7 separate regions of the Homo sapiens genome follow, and all the other regions are linked to region 3. Evidence: promoter capture Hi-C in 16 types of primary human blood cells and fetal thymus (Javierre and others, 2016). All regions are on one chromosome and are shown on one strand. The core of a region is centred on a gene start or on the middle of the fragment in contact, and the rest is flanking DNA. Distances in the headings are between cores, read along the strand shown. Region 1 has its middle 42 kb from the start of RAPH1. Region 2 overlaps RAPH1 (Ras association (RalGDS/AF-6) and pleckstrin homology domains 1). Region 3 holds the start of CTLA4 (cytotoxic T-lymphocyte associated protein 4). Region 4 overlaps RAPH1 (Ras association (RalGDS/AF-6) and pleckstrin homology domains 1). Region 5 overlaps RAPH1 (Ras association (RalGDS/AF-6) and pleckstrin homology domains 1). Region 6 overlaps RAPH1 (Ras association (RalGDS/AF-6) and pleckstrin homology domains 1). Region 7 overlaps RAPH1 (Ras association (RalGDS/AF-6) and pleckstrin homology domains 1).

Evidence for each region. The method cuts DNA at HindIII sites, captures the fragments that hold promoters and counts their contacts. A CHiCAGO score of 5 or more calls a contact.
Region 1: a contact is called between a fragment that was not itself captured here and the fragment with the promoter of CTLA4 in region 3, in 2 of 17 cell types (monocytes and M1 macrophages). The highest score is 6.8, in monocytes.
Region 2: a fragment that was not itself captured here is called in contact with the fragment with the promoter of CTLA4 in region 3 in 12 of 17 cell types (naive CD4 T cells, total CD4 T cells, naive CD8 T cells and 9 more); the score reaches 22.4 in naive CD4 T cells.
Region 4: a contact is called between a fragment that was not itself captured here and the fragment with the promoter of CTLA4 in region 3, in 2 of 17 cell types (monocytes and M1 macrophages). The highest score is 8.5, in monocytes.
Region 5: a fragment that was not itself captured here is called in contact with the fragment with the promoter of CTLA4 in region 3 in 7 of 17 cell types (naive CD4 T cells, M2 macrophages, monocytes and 4 more); the score reaches 6.9 in naive CD4 T cells.
Region 6: a contact is called between a fragment that was not itself captured here and the fragment with the promoter of CTLA4 in region 3, in 1 of 17 cell types (M1 macrophages). The highest score is 5.2, in M1 macrophages.
Region 7: a contact is called between a fragment that was not itself captured here and the fragment with the promoter of CTLA4 in region 3, in 1 of 17 cell types (monocytes). The highest score is 5.2, in monocytes.

What each region holds. Positions count from the first base shown.
Region 1 is chr2:203,575,824-203,578,558 of GRCh38, forward strand. No RefSeq gene overlaps it. Among named protein-coding and RNA genes, the nearest start is that of RAPH1, 42 kb to the left of the region's middle. The HindIII fragment of the contact is 4,941 bases long and covers 1-2,735 here.
Region 2 is chr2:203,485,966-203,488,665 of GRCh38, forward strand. The region is part of intron 4 of RAPH1 (Ras association (RalGDS/AF-6) and pleckstrin homology domains 1); the gene reads right to left. Among named protein-coding and RNA genes, the nearest start is that of RAPH1, 48 kb to the right of the region's middle. The HindIII fragment of the contact is 1,293 bases long and covers 783-2,075 here.
Region 3 is chr2:203,866,422-203,869,121 of GRCh38, forward strand. It overlaps CTLA4 (cytotoxic T-lymphocyte associated protein 4), which reads left to right and starts at 1,350. Exons shown (of 4, transcript NM_005214.5): 1 at 1,350-1,630. The coding sequence starts at 1,522. The HindIII fragment of the contact is 240 bases long and covers 1,217-1,456 here.
Region 4 is chr2:203,504,739-203,507,438 of GRCh38, forward strand. All of the region lies in intron 1 of RAPH1 (Ras association (RalGDS/AF-6) and pleckstrin homology domains 1), which reads right to left. Among named protein-coding and RNA genes, the nearest start is that of RAPH1, 29 kb to the right of the region's middle. The HindIII fragment of the contact is 7,823 bases long and covers 1-2,700 here.
Region 5 is chr2:203,463,697-203,466,436 of GRCh38, forward strand. All of the region lies in intron 4 of RAPH1 (Ras association (RalGDS/AF-6) and pleckstrin homology domains 1), which reads right to left. Among named protein-coding and RNA genes, the nearest start is that of RAPH1, 70 kb to the right of the region's middle. The HindIII fragment of the contact is 3,082 bases long and covers 1-2,740 here.
Region 6 is chr2:203,447,290-203,449,989 of GRCh38, forward strand. It overlaps RAPH1 (Ras association (RalGDS/AF-6) and pleckstrin homology domains 1), which reads right to left. Exons shown (of 14, transcript NM_213589.3): 11 at 1,449-1,547; 12 at 670-790. Among named protein-coding and RNA genes, the nearest start is that of RAPH1, 87 kb to the right of the region's middle. The HindIII fragment of the contact is 387 bases long and covers 1,227-1,613 here.
Region 7 is chr2:203,522,344-203,525,043 of GRCh38, forward strand. All of the region lies in intron 1 of RAPH1 (Ras association (RalGDS/AF-6) and pleckstrin homology domains 1), which reads right to left. Among named protein-coding and RNA genes, the nearest start is that of RAPH1, 12 kb to the right of the region's middle. The HindIII fragment of the contact is 7,464 bases long and covers 1-2,700 here.

The sequences.
Region 1 (2,735 bases), core at 110-2,609, 290 kb before region 3:
ATTTCAGTGAAATATGGTGGGTATAACGTCTTGGAGGTAGGTGAAATCTTGTCTAGAGAGAATTTGAGACTGGGAATGTGGATAGACATGCAGGGATAATAGTAGAAGTTGTGGAAGGGGTGAGATCACCAAGAAAAACTACATAGAGAGAAAAAGAGCACTGGAAACCTTTAGGGAAAACCCAATTTTAGAGCACAGGAGAAAGAAGGGGAAGTGATAAGATCCTGAATTAATGGTTTGAGTAGTAGGAGAAACTGGAGCGTGCAGTGCAGTGTAGCATTTAAGAGAGGATTTCAGGAAGAAGTTGAGCAACACTGAGGACTGCAATTGAAAGCTCGAAGGAGGATGAGGACAGAAGAAAATGGGATTTAGTGATTAGAAGGAGATTGATAAGAGAGCGATTGATAGGGGTAAAAACTAGATTAATTATTAAACATTTGCTGAAGTATACAAAACAAATGACACAAAGATCACAGTTTTTCCTGTTAGGACAACTGCTCTGTGCTTTAATGTCAGGGAAATAATGCAACAGCAAGAGAAAATTATTCCATAATGGATTAAGCATTAAAACATTGCCGGCCGGGTTCACGCCTGTAATTACAGCAGTTTGGGAGGCCAAGGTGGGCGGTTCATGCGGTCAGGAGTTCGAGACCAGTCTGGCCAACATAGTGAAACCCCGTCTCTACTAAAAATACAAAACATTAGCCGGGTGTGGTGGTGTGTGCCTGTAATCCCAGCTACCTAGGAGGCTGAGGCAGGAGAATCACATGAACCTGGGAGGCGTAGGTTGCAGTGAGCCGAGATGGTGCCATTGCACTCCTGCCTGGGCGAGAGGGTGAAACTCTGTCTCAAACACACACACACACACACACACACACACACACACACACACACACACTTGCCATTTGGGGAGGTTACCTGAGTCTTTCTCACACATGCTAATGTAAACCCTTCTTTGAGATAATGGAGTGGCTGGTCTTCACACTTGCTATTCACACTTTTTAATACAAGGGAATAGCAACCAGGTATCACTAGGCACCAGAAGTGGTGGATGTCTGGAGTAGATCAGGAAACATAGCAGAGAAGATTCCACTTCAAAGGGTTTAGTATGAAGCTACTTTAGTCATTGATTTTTCTGTCTTGGAGTGCCAATTTCTCCTCCTGACTTGTACACTTCTCTTTTTTAAAAAATTTTTGTCTTTCTTTTTTTTCTTTAGTTCTTCTGAAACAAAAAAAAGGGATACATGTGCAGAACGCGCAAGTTTGTTACATAGGTATACACGTGCCATGGTGATTTGCTGCATCTATTGACCTGTCCTCTAAGTTCCCTCCCCTCACCCCTCACCCGCTATCCCTCAACAGACCCTGATGTGTGCTGTTCTCCTCTCTCTGTCCATGTATTCTCATTGTTCAACTCCCACTTATGAGTGAGAACATGCGGTGTTTGGTTTTCTGTTCCTGTGTCAGTTTGCTGAGGATGATGGCTTCCAGCTTCATCCATGTCCCTGCAAAGGATATGATCTCATTCCTTTTTATGGCTGCATAGTATTCCATGGCATATACCACATTCTTTATCCAGTCTATCATTGATGGGCATTTGGGTTGGTGTCACTTCTCTTTGGACTCCAAGCATTTGTCTTTGATGGTGTTTTTGAGTGGTTACAGATGAAACAATGGGACTATCGCTACAAAATTGTATGACAAACCTTCCTCTTGCCTTCTTCAGTAGAATTAACTAGCTGATGATTATGGAAACAAAAGAAGATTGCAACAATAATATATTTTATTTCTTTTTTTAAAAGTTATTATTTTTTAGTGACAGGATTTTGCTATGTTTCCCAGGCTAGCCTCCAACTCTTGGACTCAAGCAGTCCTCCTGTCTCAGCCTGCTAGTAGTTGGAACTAGCGACATGCCCACGATATATTTTATTTCTGTATTGCTTTGTACCTCTCAAAGCCATTTGCATGCATGCCCCCTTTTGACCTCAAATCAGTCCTGTGGGGATAGAGAGAGATCTTTTGGGTAGGAATAAATACACAGAGAGAATATATAATCTGTTTATTGAAGTTCACCACCATTGTAAATACTGTCTTCTATTTTAAGACTATTTTTCTTCTTTGGATTGAAGACATGTAGATAGACAATATTGCTACACTATTTTTTTTTTACAACCTTAAGTGCTGATAGAGATCAGATAATTAGATAAACAATCCCTGATATATGTAAGAGTAAACACTCCACATGGATACTATATGTAAAAAAATAAACAATGGAAACATCATTGAGATAAAATTAGATAATTATTTTTATTTATTGAAATTAACACTGAAAGTGGAATGTTCCAACACTGTTAGGGATTACAGTGAGACAGTTTGACTTTATCTTATTCCTGAAGATGTTTTCACTCTTTCAATTTGACAACTCTTCTATAAAAGCCTTTACCTGGTGGATTAACAGTTTGAGGTATTTAGAGTTAAAGAAGCGTTGTTCAAGAGATTGGAGATAAAAGCAGGGGCGGGGGGAGTTAAAGAGGAGGAGACTCATTTATTCATGAATTCTTTCATTCATCCATTCCTTTAACATTTATTGATACCACTATGAGTTATGTACTAGATATTGTACTAGATCTGGGAACATGGAGTTGCTTTCTTTCATGAAAGACTTTCTGATGGAAGAAAAGAAATAATATCATTTTGAGGGGAAGAGTTTTCCTTGAAAACCTTGAAACTACTCT
Region 2 (2,700 bases), core at 179-2,678, 380 kb before region 3:
TGTTCCAACCCTTCTTTCCCAAATGGGCTACTAAAACACTGGCAGCCAGCATAGAAGACTGGAAGAATCTTCTCCAGAGAAGCTCACCAGCCTAGGAAAAAAAACCTAAGGATAATCCTGAAGACTACAAAAAAAAAAAAAAGAAAGAAAAGAAATAAATAGAATTTTAAGAAGATGCAATTAATGGAACGCTAATTTGGCTTGAACCAGAGAGATTTAATCAACTGGGAGAAAGTCTGAAGTTGAAACAGTGATCACCATATAGAAAATTAAATATTTTTAAACATATATTCATTCCAGTAAAAGTAAAATGATATTCCAGAAAGGGGATGTAGTCACAAGAGTATATGGAGGTTAGCAGTAAATTTCAAGTATATAGTCATTTTAATATAAACACTGAATATGAGCTCAATCAAAATATATTTGGAGAATGGAAAAACAGGAAGGGAGAAGTGAGAAGAAGCTGTATATAGACAGCTATACCCTCCATCTTCTGGAGTAGAGTGAGAAGTCAATAGGTAATACATACCACTAAAAAGAAAATCAAGAAATGGCAATGTGTATGTAGACTTAATGATAAAGAGGTAAAGTCCCTAAGAATCAGCTAAATGAGCAAAAATTGCTTACCTCTGGAAGCAGAATATGATGTGTATGTGAGTAGAGGATAGTTTTCCGTAACATATCTCATAGAACTATTTAACGCCATGCATGAAAAACTAAAATATTTTTAAAACTGTATTTGCACTTAAAGACAATTTGATACATGAGTTCAGGATATATTAAGCTTGCCTCAGTTTACTTTATTTGAATCAGAACAGACTAGACCTAGGAAAAAAGCAAATGGAAGCAAGTTCCGGGTTTGTTAAACCACCTTTCTATACTCCTAGGTGAGGCAAAAGAACAGGCTAGCTAGATAAGGCTTTTTAACTCCTTTCCCTGCTATAGTCCTGGTTTACTCACCAAACCTTACATTAAACTCTTATATTAAACATTATACCATTGAGCACTGGTATCTTTGCAGTATTCACAGTGATACCCATGGATACCACTAGATACCATTTGAAGTGCGCTTGCTGGGAGAGAGGAACTTTTCACGTTTTACTTCAATTTGCCCCTATACTGTATGAACTTTTATAATGAGCACATTTTACAGACAGAAAGACATGCATACGGTATTAGAAGATCCTTAATGATTAGTTTATAACTTGTCCCTCACGCATCTTAATCCAACTCAAAATACTGTAAACTGATTGGAAGGAATATCAACATACAAAACAAAGAATGGCCAAGAAAGCACATCCCTAATAAAATATTGCTCATATCCTAGCAGGTAAATCTAAAGGACATGAAATGATACATATTAAGTAGCTGGTGGCTAAATATAATTCCCAGGTATCACAAAATAGAAATCAGTTTTTTTTTTCCTTTTTTTTTTGTAGACGGAGTCTTGCTGTTGCCAGGCTGGAGTGCAGTGGCACGATCTTGGCTCACTGCAACCTCCGACTCCCTGGTTCAAGCGATTCTCCTACCTCACCCTCCCGAGCAGCTGGGATTACAGGCATGCGCCACCACATCCAACTAATTTTTTTTTGTATTTTTAGTAGAGACAGGGTTTCACCATGTTGGCCAGGGTGGTCTCAAACTCCTGACCTCAGGTGATCCGCCCGCCTCGGCCTCCCAAAGTGTTGGGATTACAGGTGTGAGCCACCACGTCCGGCCTAGAAATCAGTTTTCAAGTTCTCTATAGAATATATACCACTTAGATAAGTTTCATTTTAAATAAATGAAAGTTTATTCTTCAGATTGATAAGATTCGCTTTCTTTGAAATAACTCAAGTTTATCTCCAAACCACCATGATTCATACTCCTTTTGTGCTCCACAGTACCAAAAACAAAGCTACGCACATGGGTGGGTACCAAGAGTTACCTACTGATGGAAATTAATCCAAAGAATTAAATAAGTTACGAAAAAAAAATCAATGATGTCAAGTAATAGTTAAAATTCAAGATTTTACTTTAGTACTGATTATTCATAAATAGATTCTTTTATCCCATATTAGAATATTGTCAACACAAGCTTATTGGAAAGGTTGACTTAACTTTGCCCCATTTTTCTTCTTTCTTGCTGCTACCCTATGACAGAATTACCATCTCTTTGATGAAAACAACTCAATAAAGAATTCTCTTTCACCAAACTCAGCTTTTGTTGAACTTGTTACCGCAAATCTATTCCCTATCTTATCCAGTCACATGCTGAAAAAAATTCCATCTTTTAAAAATCTGTTCATGAATAACTTACGGTTCTCTGAACCACCCTATCAGGAAGGCAGATATAGTATTACGAACTCTGGCTGGGCGCAGTGGCTCACACCTGTAACCCCAGCACTTTGGGAAGTGGGCGGATCACAAGGTCAGGAGTTTGAGACCAGCCTGGCCAGCATGGTGAAACCCCGTCTCTACCAAAAATACAAAAATTAGCCAGGCATGGTGGCACACGCCTGTAATCCCAGCTACTCAGGAGGCTGAGGCAGGAGAATCACTTAACCCGGGAGGCAAGGTTGCAGTGAGCCAAGATCATGCCACTGCACTCCAGCCTGGGCGACAGAATGAGACTCCGTCTATTAAAAAAAAAAAAAAAAAAAAAAAAAAAAAACCTGTTTATGAACAACTTTTGTTCTCTGAACCACCCTATCAGGAAGG
Region 3 (2,700 bases), core at 100-2,599:
GCATCACACCAACATGGCACATGTATACATATGTAACAAATCTGCATGTTGTGCACATGTACCCTAAAACTTAAAGTATAATAATAATAAAATTTTAAAAAAAAAAAGAAGAGGCTTCCTGGAGGAGATGACAGCTGAGCTAAGTCCTGGAGGATGAGAAGGAGTATAAAATAAGATAATAGGAGAAAAAAGGCAGTAGGAACAGCATGGGTAAAGGTGATGAGGCCTGAAAGAGGCACGTGGAAGGAAAGACAAATGCAGGAAGGGGGAATGGGAGGGAATGCTGGGGTACAGGCCAAAGAGGGAGGCATTTGGTGAGTATTCTGCAGAGTCTCCTCTGCTGTGCTGAGGTGTGGACAATGGGAAACCATGGACGGACTGGAGTAGGCAAATGTCATATTCCCTGTTACAACTGTCTGTTTGCATGTCAGCCTTCTAGAAGCCCCTTAAGGTATCAACTATGTTTTTGTTTTGTCATCATTCAATCCTAAGTGCACAGAATTCCGGGCATATTACAGGTTCCCCATGAATGTTTCTTTCTTTATTAAAATGTATGAAAACTCTCCAGATTTAAGGAAGGTCCTCAATGTTTCAAATTCTTTTTGTTAGATCATTGGTCCTGTCTACAGCTGTCACAAATTTAAGGACTCTGGTTATATTTAATCTTCACTTTTGAATTTTCTGCTTGAAAAATTTGTATTAGAAAAAAAAGTCTATCCTTTTATGGACGGCTCTAATCTCTTGAATCATTTGGGTTGGCTTTTCTTTGGACCTTCTTCAACTCTGTTTTGTCTCTGTTGAGTTAAGGCTTTTAAGAACACCTGAATTCTTTCCTTCTGCAAAACCAGAGGCAGCTTCTTTTCCGCCTATTTTCAGTTTATTTCTTGTGATTTTAGTTTTTTTCTCTTAACCAAATGCTAAATGGATTTAGGAGAAATAAACTTATTTGTAAAGCTGTCAAGGGACCATTAGAAGGATGGTGCTTCACAGATAGAATACAGTTTTTATTAATGATGCCTAGACAAATCCTGCCATTAGCCCAAGGGCTCAGAAAGTTAGCAGCCTAGTAGTTTTGGAGTTGTCAATGAAATGAATTGGACTGGATGGTTAAGGATGCCCAGAAGATTGAATAAAATTGGGATTTAGGAGGACCCTTGTACTCCAGGAAATTCTCCAAGTCTCCACTTAGTTATCCAGATCCTCAAAGTGAACATGAAGCTTCAGTTTCAAATTGAATACATTTTCCATCCATGGATTGGCTTGTTTTGTTCAGTTGAGTGCTTGAGGTTGTCTTTTCGACGTAACAGCTAAACCCACGGCTTCCTTTCTCGTAAAACCAAAACAAAAAGGCTTTCTATTCAAGTGCCTTCTGTGTGTGCACATGTGTAATACATATCTGGGATCAAAGCTATCTATATAAAGTCCTTGATTCTGTGTGGGTTCAAACACATTTCAAAGCTTCAGGATCCTGAAAGGTTTTGCTCTACTTCCTGAAGACCTGAACACCGCTCCCATAAAGCCATGGCTTGCCTTGGATTTCAGCGGCACAAGGCTCAGCTGAACCTGGCTACCAGGACCTGGCCCTGCACTCTCCTGTTTTTTCTTCTCTTCATCCCTGTCTTCTGCAAAGGTGAGTGAGACTTTTGGAGCATGAAGATGGAGGAGGTGTTTCTCCTACCTGGGTTTCATTTGTTTCAGCAGTCAAAGGCAGTGATTTATAGCAAAGCCAGAAGTTAAAGGTAAAACTCCAATCTGGCTTGGCTGGCTCTGTATTCCAGGGCCAGCAGGGAGCAGTTGGGCGGCAGCAAATAAGGCAAAGAGATAGCTCAGAACAGAGCGCCAGGTATTTAGTAGGGGCTTCATGAATGCATGTGAGTTGGTTTAGTAGAGAGACACAGGCAATTTCAGACCCTTCTATGAGACTGGAAGTGATTTAAGAGGGAAAGGATAGCCATAGTCCTGAATACATTTGAGCTGGGTTTCAGGATGAGCTCACAAGTTCCTTTAAAAAAAATTGACTTAAGCAAATCCTGGGAAGAGTTTTTTTGCTATACAATTCAAGGTTTTAAGGTCCTCGGATTCATATACTTTATAAATGAATTAGCCAGCTTGTTTAAAATGTAGGGAAATTGTGGGAAGAATGCCTTCTTTACTTAATTCAAGGTTTTAAGGTTCTCTTAATCAATTCTACTAGCTAATTAGCCAATTATTTAAAAATAAAAGTTTGAAATTGCCAAAAAAAAAAGACAAGGAAAAGGAAAGAAAGAAAGCCACCAGTCTGTTTGGCATACAATACTTAATTGTTGCCTGACCTACGTGTGGGTTTCAGATGCAGATCCTCAGTTTTCAGCTCTTCAGAGACTGACACCAGGTTTGTTACACGGCTTAAAATGATGAGTATATCCATTGAATCTCAACCTTATCTCTCTCTAGACCTTCTTGGTTAAGAAACCATGTAGTTTGTATGAAGTAGGTACTCAAAAGATATTTGATGATTTAATTTTTACTGGAGAAGAAATATTCATATATGTTTTCTTATTTTTACATGTTTTAAATATGTAAAGATTAAATAAACACTCTTAGAAGTATTTAAATTTCCTAAAGTAAATTTATCTCAACCAGTAACAGGACCCTCCCAATACTGGAAAGTTGAGTGTGACCGCATTTAGTGGTGATGAGTGTGAGCTTGCTTGGGGAGAG
Region 4 (2,700 bases), core at 37-2,536, 360 kb before region 3:
GTTTCTCCTTTAAAACAGAATGCTTTTAATAGCACCCAAGTCACCTTTTGAATGGTTTGCTGCTTTGAAATTTCTTCCATCAGATACCCTAAATCATCTCTCTCAATTTCAAAGTTCTACAAATCTCTAGCGCAGGGGCAAAATGCCGCCAGTGTCTTTGCTAAAACATAATGAGAGTCACCTTTGCTCCAGTTCCCAACAAGTTCCTCATCTCCATCTGAGACCACCTCAGCTTGGATCTTATTGTTCATATCACTATCAGCATTTTTGTCAAAGCCATTCAACAAGTCTCCAGACAGTTTCACACTTTCCTACATTTTCCTGTCTTCTTCTGAGCCCTCCAAACTGTTCCAGCCTCTGCCTGTTACCCAGTTCCAAAGACACTTCTACGTTTTTGGGTATCTTTTCAGCAACGCCACACTCTACTGGTACCAATTTACTGCATTAGTCCATTTTCAGGCTGCTGATGAAGACAAACCTGAGATTGGGAAGAAAAAGAGGTTTAATTGGACTCACAGTTCCACATGGCTGGGGAGGCCTCAGAATCATGGTGGGAGGCAAAAGGCACTTCTTACATGGCGGTGGCAAGAGAAAATGTGGAAGAAGCAAAAGTGGAAACCCCTGATAAACCCATCAAATCTCATGAGACTTATTCACTATCACAAGACTAGCACAAGAAAGACTGGCCGCCATGATTAAATTACCCCCCCCGGGTCCCTCCCACAACACAGAGGAATTCTGAGAGATACAACTGAAGTTGAGATTTGGGTGGGGACACAGCCAAACCATATCACTAAAGTGGAAAAATACAATTTAGTTCAACGCTCTACAAAGAAACCCCTAACATCCCTATATATAAAAAGTTCTGATTATCTTATAATTAACTATTACACAATATGCCATAAAGCATTATCTGAAACCACAGAGTAGATAAAAAACTATAAAAACTGAAAAACAACAAATAATTGATTGTGTTGTTTATATTCCAGATTCTCAATTTCAAGAGCTGTGAGACAGTAAATTTCTGTTGCTTTAAGCCACTCAGCGTGTAGTAATTTGTTACTGCAGCCCTAGCAAATGAATAGTTACTATACACACACGCGCGCGCACGCACACACACACACGGCTGCTCCACACTTCAGACCTTTTGCTGTTATACTACATAGTGTAGCTATTTAGTTATTTTTGCAGACAGCTGATGTTGTGCATGTCCACTCCAGCCTCAACTAGAAGTAGAAGCTGCAACTTCATTCCTCTTAGAGAAAACGGTCTTGAAACTATGGAAAGCCTCACGAGGGAGGCAGCAGTATTTTTCTTCACTTTTGTCCTACCTATTCCCCTACCAGATGGCCAAACGCACTGGCAAGAAATCCAATCCCAGAGGCAACCCATGCTTTGAGAGGAAAGGGGGTAACAAATAGACGTAGCCTATAGCTTGGAAGTCATTTGGATTAGGTATTGAATTATCAGTATAAATAAACTCAAGGTTTCAAACAGACAAAAAGATGGGCAGAAATAAAGACAGAGATGTGTGTATTATGTGTTTGTAGGTATGTCCACTGAAAAAGCCTGGTGGCAATGACACCAGGTAATTAATTAGCACACTTGGTTCCCAGTTTTTGGTTTCAAAATACTGTATACACTCTACACAAAAAGTAACAGACACCTGGAGTAGTAATTCCAGGGCAGGGCAGGGAAAAAAAACAAGATGAGATCTTGCAGTGAGCAGAGATCGTGCCACTGCACACTCCAGCCTGGGCAACAGAGCGAGACTCCGTCTCAAAAAAAAACAAAAAACAAAAAACAAAAAACAAGATGAGCCTCTAGAACATCATCTAGTGGCAAAAAGTCCTCAATTAATGATAGGCACATGTCAAATGGACACAGGAACCAGCCTGAAGGCCCAGATCAGGGGTCTAATCTGTGAAAAGTTAAATACTGAAATAAATTATGATAGAAACAAATTATAATCCACTGACTAAAATCCATATATAGATATATATCTATATATATATATATCTATATATATATCTATATATATCTAGATATATATATCTATATATATATCTATATCTATATATCTATATATATATCTATATCTATATATCTATCTATATCTATATATATATATATATATATATAGATATATATATATATATATTTTTTTTTTTTTTGAGATGAACTTTCACTCTGGGTTGCCCAGGCTGGAGTGCAATGGCACAATCTCAACTCATTGCAACCTCCACCTCCCAGGTTCAAGCGATTCTCCTGCCCCAGACTCCCAAGTAGCTGGGATTACAGGCGCCTGCCACCACACCCGGCTAATTTTTTTATTTTTAGTAGAGACAGGGTTTCACCATGTTGACCAGGCTGGTCTTGAACTCCTGACCTCAGGTGATACGCCCACCTCGGCCTCCCAAAGTGCTGGGATTACAGGTGTGTGCCACCGTGCCTGGCCACAAAATCCATATTGAATTAAATAAAATATACACAGTAAAGAAGAAAGCTCTTACTTACTGTAGAATGCCAACTACTTAATGTAGATGAAATGACAAAAAAAAATCACCATTTTGCAACCACTGTTATAATTATAAAGTATTTATTTTAAAAGTAATTTAAAAACCAAGTTGCTAAGTTTTAAAAAATCAAGGCAAGAATCATCAATAGAGGCTAAAACTAGTAGGTGAAAATTTGATGACA
Region 5 (2,740 bases), core at 82-2,581, 400 kb before region 3:
TTCTTATACTATTATATATTCCTCTGACTAAAAGATTAAATCATCCTATTTTTTTAAAAAATCCTTTATGCAAATAAACAAATAGCAGAATTATAAAACATGTTTACGTTTTAAGATACAAATTTTTCTCTTTTTAAAACAAGCTATGAAACGAGAAAACTAAATTACTGTCATTAAAACTCTCAGTTTTTAGAATTATGAGTCTTACAGAAACAAATTGTTAGGTAAATTACCAAAACTTATATGCGTTTTTGATGAACAGAGCACTACTTTATAAAGGAATCTGCAATACTAGCATTTTCCAGCAGTTTTTATGAAATCAGTTACTTGACAAATTTAGGGGAAGAGAAAGAAGGAGGCAGAAGTTTCATGAATATTTTCTCAATGGGATAATGATCTTATTATGTTCCTCATGGCTCATTTGCCGCATCCTTATATTGGCATGAATTGCAAAGAAAGTTTACCAAGGTATATTTGCAGGTTTCACTTCATATTCCTGAAAAGTAAATTTAAAGTCTGAAGAGGAAAAACTGATATGTGGAATCAATGTTTTGTATATTTGGAATATAAACATGAACTTTTTTCTTTTTGAGATGATGGAGTCTTGCTCTGTTGCCCAGGCTGGAGTGCAGTGGCATGATCTTGGCTCACTGCAACCTCCACCTCCCGGGTTCAAGCGATTCTCCTGCCTCAGCCTCCCAAGTAGCTGGGATTACAGATGCCCGCCACCATGCCCGGCTAATTTTGTATTTTTAGAAGAGACAGGGTTTCGCCATGTTGGCGAGACTGGTTTCAAACTCCTGACCTCAGGTGATCTACCTGCCTAGACCTCCCAAAGTGCTGGGATTACAGGCATGAGCCACCATGCCCAGCCAAACATGAACTTCTAAAAGGCCAAATTCTTTATGGTATTACATAATCTATAAATTTAACATTTTAAAAGTTTACAAGATGCCCTCAAAGCTGAACATATTTCTGAGAAAAAAGGAATATTCAAGAGAATGAGAAGACAAGGGATAAACTGGGAGAAAAAATATTTGCAAAAGACGTATCTGATAAAGAACTGTTATAAAAAAAAAGAGAGAGAGAGCTCTTAAAATTCTTTAAAACAAAAATGAACATGATTTTAAAAATAGGCAAAAGACCTGAAAAGATACCTCACTAAAGAAGACAGCTAGTAAATAAGCATATAAAAAGATGTTCAACATTATTTGTCATTAGGGAATTACAAGTAAAATGAGATACCACTACACACCTATCAGAATGGCCAAAATCCAAAACACTAACACCACCAAATGCTGCCAAGGATGTGGAACAATAGGAACTCTCATTCATTGCTAGTGGGAATATAAAATGGTACAGTCACTTTGGAAGACAGTTTTGGCAGTTTTTTACAAAACTAAATGTACTCTTACCATACAATTCAATTCAGCAATTGTGCTCCTTGGTATTTACCCAAATGAGTTGAAAACTGATGCCTACAAAGACATGCACATGGATGTTTATAGCAACCTTATTCATGAGTGCCAAAACTTGGAAGCAACAAAGACGTCACCCAGTAAGTAATAAATAAACTATGGTGCATCCTGACAATGGAATATTATTCAGCACTAAAATGAAATGAGCTCTCAAGCCATGAAAAGACATGAAGGAACATTAAGTGTGTAATACTAAGTGAAAGAAGCCAATCTCAGAAAGATATTTAGTGTACAATTCTAACTACATGACACTGGAAAAGCCAAAACCATAAAGACGATAAAAAGATCAGTAGTTGCCAGGGGTTAAGAAGGAGGAATGAATAGGCAGAGCACGGAGGATTTAAGGGCTGTGAAACTATTCTGTATGATAAAACAATGGTGGATACATGTTATCACATATATTTGCCAATATGCATAGAATGTACAACACCGGCAAGGCATGGTGGCCCATGCCTGTAATCCCAGCACTTTGAGAGGCCAAGCGGGCAGATAAGGAGTTGAAGACCAGGCTGGCCAACATGGCAAAACCCTGTCTCTACTAAAAACACCAAAATTAGCTGGGTGCAGTGGTGGGCGCTTGTAATCCCAGCTACTCAGGAGGCTGAGAAAGGGAGAATTGCTTGAAACCAGAAAACGGAGGTTGCAGTAAACAGAGATCACACCACTATACTCCAGCCTGGGTGACACAGCAAGACTTCGTCTCAAAAAAAAAAAGTTGACACAACGGACATAGGGATTAAACAAAGAAGAGACCCGTGTAACCAACTAACATACATTAAACCAATTAGATTTCCTAACTGTCAATAAGAAATTTTTATAAAGCAGCTAGATGGGGGCTATTTTAACAAATCCAAATCCCAGCTGCTCTTCCATTTGCTCAAAATGCTACTCTTTATGCTTACATAAAGTGGTCCATGTTAAAACTGTATGAAATTAAGAGCTGGGTTAACTTCAACCTAGGCATATTTTAGTTTATACTTCTCTAGTTTTATTAAAGGATAACCCTTGCTAGCAGCTTTTTGAAGAAACAGAACTGATCATGATACCTCTTTTAGAGTCTGAGTATCATCCCTGGAACAAAACTGGAAATGAAAATGTTTATGTCAAATTGCAAGACTCCTAATATTTTTATGCTTCCTGTGGGTAATAAGCTCTTTCTCAGAGAGTGCTATTTGTGTCTAATGTATTTAAGCAATCACCATATCTTTTAACTATTAACAACCTGGGAAAAATAGAAATTGTCTTAAGCTCATGGGGTGTTG
Region 6 (2,700 bases), core at 170-2,669, 420 kb before region 3:
CTAGGGACTGGGTATTCTCATTGTTCCTGGGGTATCACTGCTTCTAGTCCTCAGTGGACAGCACTAGGAAATGTATGTGTATATACACATTCTAAATTTGTTTTTACTTAATAGAGATGAAATAGAGTCATGCAGCTTTTAAATATACTACTAAAGTTATTATTTCTTTCATCACATCCAATGCAAAAATTTAAAAATTCTGCTTTTAGATGACATGGATCTCATTCATGAAACATTTTGAATTGAAAGAAGATTTATGTTAAGATGTAATCATAGCATGCACTTGTTTAAAGGATATAGGAATCTGAAGGAGTGCAGCTTCTTCATGGTTTCTGAGTACAAAGATTCTTTCCAAGTAATGTTTTATCCCAAATTATGCATTAACAGTGTCCAGCAGTATGTATGTTTTGAATAAATTTTATAAATATAAATAACAAAACTGGCTTTAGAAATCTATATACTGATTTTTCATTTCAAATACATTTGTGAACTAGCCCATGATACTGTACCCTCTAGCAATTTTTAAAAAGGCATCTATTGATTATAATTTAGGAATTAAGTATGGCTCCGGTTTTTAAGAATCAAGTTGAAATTTCCAGGTCTACTATCAGTCTCTACAGAGACCTTCATATTAATCGCAAAATAGTGCTTTGAAGCATTTTGAACTACCTGGGATGCTGGAAGAACTGGATCCCGATTTAATGCTGGAGCTGGATAAGGAAGTCCAATCATAGGCTGACTCTGTCCTCTTCAAGGCTTCTTGGTAGTTCATATAGAGCTGCTTCCCATACTAAAGAGAAGACAGGAAATGGTGACATCTAAACTTTACTGAGTATGATACAGAAGGATAAGGTGAAATGGGGGACATATTTCTGTTTACTGATTGATGGTCTGTATTAAAATTAATACCTATGATAGTTCAAAAATTCCTCTAATACCATAAATTATAATCTATTCTTATTTCTCCTCATTTTTAGAGGGGCAGCAAGAAGTCAACACTTGATTCTGTTTGTTATAAACATTAATGTTTTTTCACCCCAAATTCTTGATCCAAGGGCAGCTTTTTAGCACTCTTCAGGATACTGCTCCAAATGTGGTTGGTAAATGATCATTACTTAAAGTAATTTAATTTTTCCAAAACTTACTTTGCTTAGGCTAAACTCTACTATTTAAGAATCATATAATGCATTCTCCAAAGCCAAAATAAATCACTTTGATACTACACAAGCTTTTACCAGCAATATTATTCCAAGTATACCAAATGTTAAAAGTTTATCCCTATAAACAAGGAAAAAAGACAACATTTAAAACTTGAAACTTAGGCCTGAAAAACGTAGGCACTGGCAAATCCATGAACATGAAATAGTCAGAATAGTTGTCATGAAAACGAAAACTATATCATCGACAAACACCTCATTATTCCATCATCAAATCAAAAGGAGACATGCCTTTGCAATGCGGATCCCATTGACCCACTGATGCAGTGTCCTCACATCATCACAACAAAGGTATTTGATATATTGAGATTTCTTCTGGATTTGTGGATGCTGCAAGATTAAAGACAAAATCCAACTAAGTCCCTTGGAGAACTAAAGAAAAACAAACTTTATCAAAGCTTAAACATATCCTGACAAGTTATAGGCCATTAGAGTAATGGCCAATACATTTATGCTTCTTATATGGCCATAAGGCCAAATAAAGTAGCCCATAAGAATTTTTACAAAGTAAATGAGAAAGAAACTTTTGTGAAATTTTAGATCAAGATATCCAAGTTAAAATAGATCTTCACATCTTGAGAAATTCCCAAACGTTCCTTCTACATTTCAAAGAAACAAAGTTCATCAAGGTTAACAGAGTCCATAGAATTCTCCATCTATAAGATTATGGAAAAGGAAGAGAATGTTTAATTTCACTTTCAACCCACTGAAATTATGGGTGCAGAAGACTCCAAATCAGAGAGGGACTTTGACAAAGCTTCAGTGTCTAGAGGTGAGGTGAATTACTGGGCTGGGTACACCAAGCCTATGGCACAGCACCTGGGACAAGAATCTACAGTCACACCTGTCACAGGGAAGTACAGCCCTGTAGGTCCCACTCTCTACCAAACTGCAGGGCTGCAGCACTTGCCTCCAGGGGACACATAGATGTCAACAGCATCTTCACATTTAGTTTTCACAACCCACTGTACTTTTCAGTTGAGGCTTGGATGAGAGGTGACTGACTGAACCTTGGCTACAAAATCCAGGTGTTAGGAATATGTTTAAGAAATTTTAACACCACTGAGCCTCAACCAGTAGGTCCTTGGAAAGAAAAGCCCTAAATCACACTTGTTCTGAATGTAATGACTTATGAACACCACATCTCTTTTCAACTATTCTGAAAACCAAAAAACTAATGGCTATAATTTGCCTGGAAAAAATTTTAAATTTGTGTTCAGTTATAAGAAAGAAAAAGGCCAGATATGGTGGCTCATGCCTGTAAACCCAGCACTTTGGGAGGCCGAGGCGGGTGGATCAAGGAGTCAGGAGTTCGAGACCAACCTGACCAACACGGTGAAACCCCGTCTCTATTAAAAATACAAAAATTAGTTGGACGTGGTGGTGCATGCCTGTAATCCCAGCTACTCAGGAGGCTGACACAGGAGAATCGCTTAAACCCAGGAGGCAGAGGTTGCAGTGAGCCAAGATCGTGCCACCGCAC
Region 7 (2,700 bases), core at 114-2,613, 340 kb before region 3:
ATAGGACAGCATGCAGTGTTTATGTAATACATTGTAAGGCAACTGAAAAATATAAACATTGCTGTGTAAGCTCTAAATAAACGGACAGATATGCCATCTTAATAGATTAGAAGATGCAATATTATCAATGCCTATTCTCCCCCAAAATGAACTAGGTATTCAATGTAATTACAACCAATGTCCCAGTGGGCATTTTTTTACAGAAACTGACAAGAGTATTCTAAAATTTATATGGAAAAGCAAATGACCTAGACTAGCCAAAAGAACCTTGAAAAGGGTTGGGTGCAGTGGCTCACACCTGTAATCCCAGCAGTTTGGAAGGCTGAGGCAGGCGGATCACCTGAGGTCAGGAGTTCGAGACCAGCCTGGCCAACATCGTGAAACCTCATCTCTACTAAAACTACAAAAATTAGCCGAGCATGGTGGCGGGCACCTGTAATCCCAGCTACTCGGGAGGCTGAGGTGGGAGAATCGCTTGAACCTGGAAGATTGCAGTGAGCTGAGATCACGTTACTGCACTCTAGCCTGGGCAACAGAGCAAGACTCTGTCTCAAAAAAAAAAAAAAAAAAAAAGAAAAAGAAAAGAACCTTGAAAAGAGTAGGGGAGGAATGAATTTTACCTGATTTCAAGACTCACTATCCAGCTAAATAATCAAGACAATGTAGTACTGGCAAAAGGATAGAGAATCACATCAATGTAACAGAATGGAAAGTCCAGGAATAGACCCACACATAAAATGTCAAACAATTTTCAGTAAGGATGCCAGAGGTCAGGGGCGGTGGCTCACGCCTGTAATCCCAGCACTTTGGGAGGCCGAGGCGGGCGGATCATGGGGTCAGGAGATCAAGACCATCCTGGTTAACACGGTTAAACCCCGTCTCTATTAAAAATACAAAAAATTAGCTGGGCGTGGTGGCGGGCGCCTGTAGTCCCAGCTACTCGGGAGGCTGAGGCAGGAGAATGGCGTGAATACGGGGGGCGGAGCTTGCAGTGAGCTGAGATTGTGCCACTGCACTCTGGCCTGGGTGAAAGAGCGAGACTCTGTCTCAAAAAAAAAAAAAAACCACGTCAGAACTGAGGTAGGCAATGAGGAAAGTGTTTTTAACAAATGACACTGGCACAACTAGATATAAATGGGGCAGAGGGCTCGATATCACTCATAAACAAAAATTAATTCAAAATGGATTGTAGACTAAAATGTAAAAGCTAAAATTATAAACTCCAAGGAGAAAATATGGAAATATACTTTCTGAACTTTGGTGTAGGCAAAAATTTATTAGGGCACAAACGACACTAACCATAAAAGGAAAAATTGGTAATTTTGATGAAGCCCAATATAAAAACTTCTGCTCTTTGAAAAACACCATTAAAAAAATACACGGCCAGGAGCAGTGGCTCAGGCCTGTAATCCCAGCACTTTGGGAGGCCGAGGCAGGTGGATCACCAGGTCAGGAGACCGAGACCATCCTGGCTAACATGGTGAAACCCCATCTCTACTAAAAATACAAAGTTAGCTGGGTGTGGTGGCATGCGCCTGTAGTCCCAGCTACTCGGGAGGCTGGGGCAGGAGAATCCCTTGAACCTGGGAGGTGGAAGTTGCAGTGAGCCGAGATCACGCCACTGTACTCCAGCCTGGGCAACAGAGCGAGACTCTGTCTCAAAAGTAAAAAATAAAAAAGACAAGCTAAGTTACAGACTAAGAGAAAATATTTGCAAATATATCCAATAAAGAACTTGTATCGAGTAAATAATTGTTAAACTAAATTTAAAAAATATATACAATCTTATTTTTTAAATGGGCAAAGACTTGCTGTCACTTCCCAAATGACTAAGAACATTACATTGCTCAACATCAATAATAATCAGCGAAAGGTGAATTAAAGCTACGGTTATATCATTACATACCCATTAAAATGGCTAGAATGAGAAAGACTGACAATACCAAGTCTTAGGATATACACCAAGTGTCATATTATGCTGTTGGATATAAAATGATACAACTTTGGAAAAATTTGCCCACTTTAAAAATTAAAGTTAAAAATACACCTACCCTATAACCCAACACGTCCTCATAGGTATTCATCCTCAAGAAATGAAAACCTGTCCACAATTGGAAACAGCCTAAATTTCTATCAAAGGTGCCTGGAAAAACGAAATGTGGCATATATGCATAATGGAATACTTTAGCAATAAAAAGGAACTAATCCAAGCAACAAGATCGAAGAATCTAAAAATTATTATTCTGCATGAAAACAAGCCAGACTTGGGTGGGTTAGGAGGGGAAGGGAACAAGACACTGTATGATTCCATTTATATAAAATTCTAGAAAATGCAAACCAATCCATAGTGACAGATTGCCGTAAGACAGGGGTAGAGGGGGACAAATTACAAAGAGGTATGAGGAAACTTTGGGAGATGATGGAAATGTTCAGTTTTGATTACAGTGATGATTTCATGGGTGTATTAAAACTTACCAAATTGTACACTTTAATATGTGCAGTTTATTATATAGAAATTATACCTCAGTAAGGCAATAAAAAATTTTTTAAAGAAACAAGCAACCTAAAAGACTTCATAGCAGAATTAGAATTAGAATTCACTTCTGATATATGCAATTTTCTGATTATGTATTGTTCTTCAATACAAAGTTTTTAAAAGGAGGAACATCTATCTAAATGGCCTAGCAATCCCACTCCTTT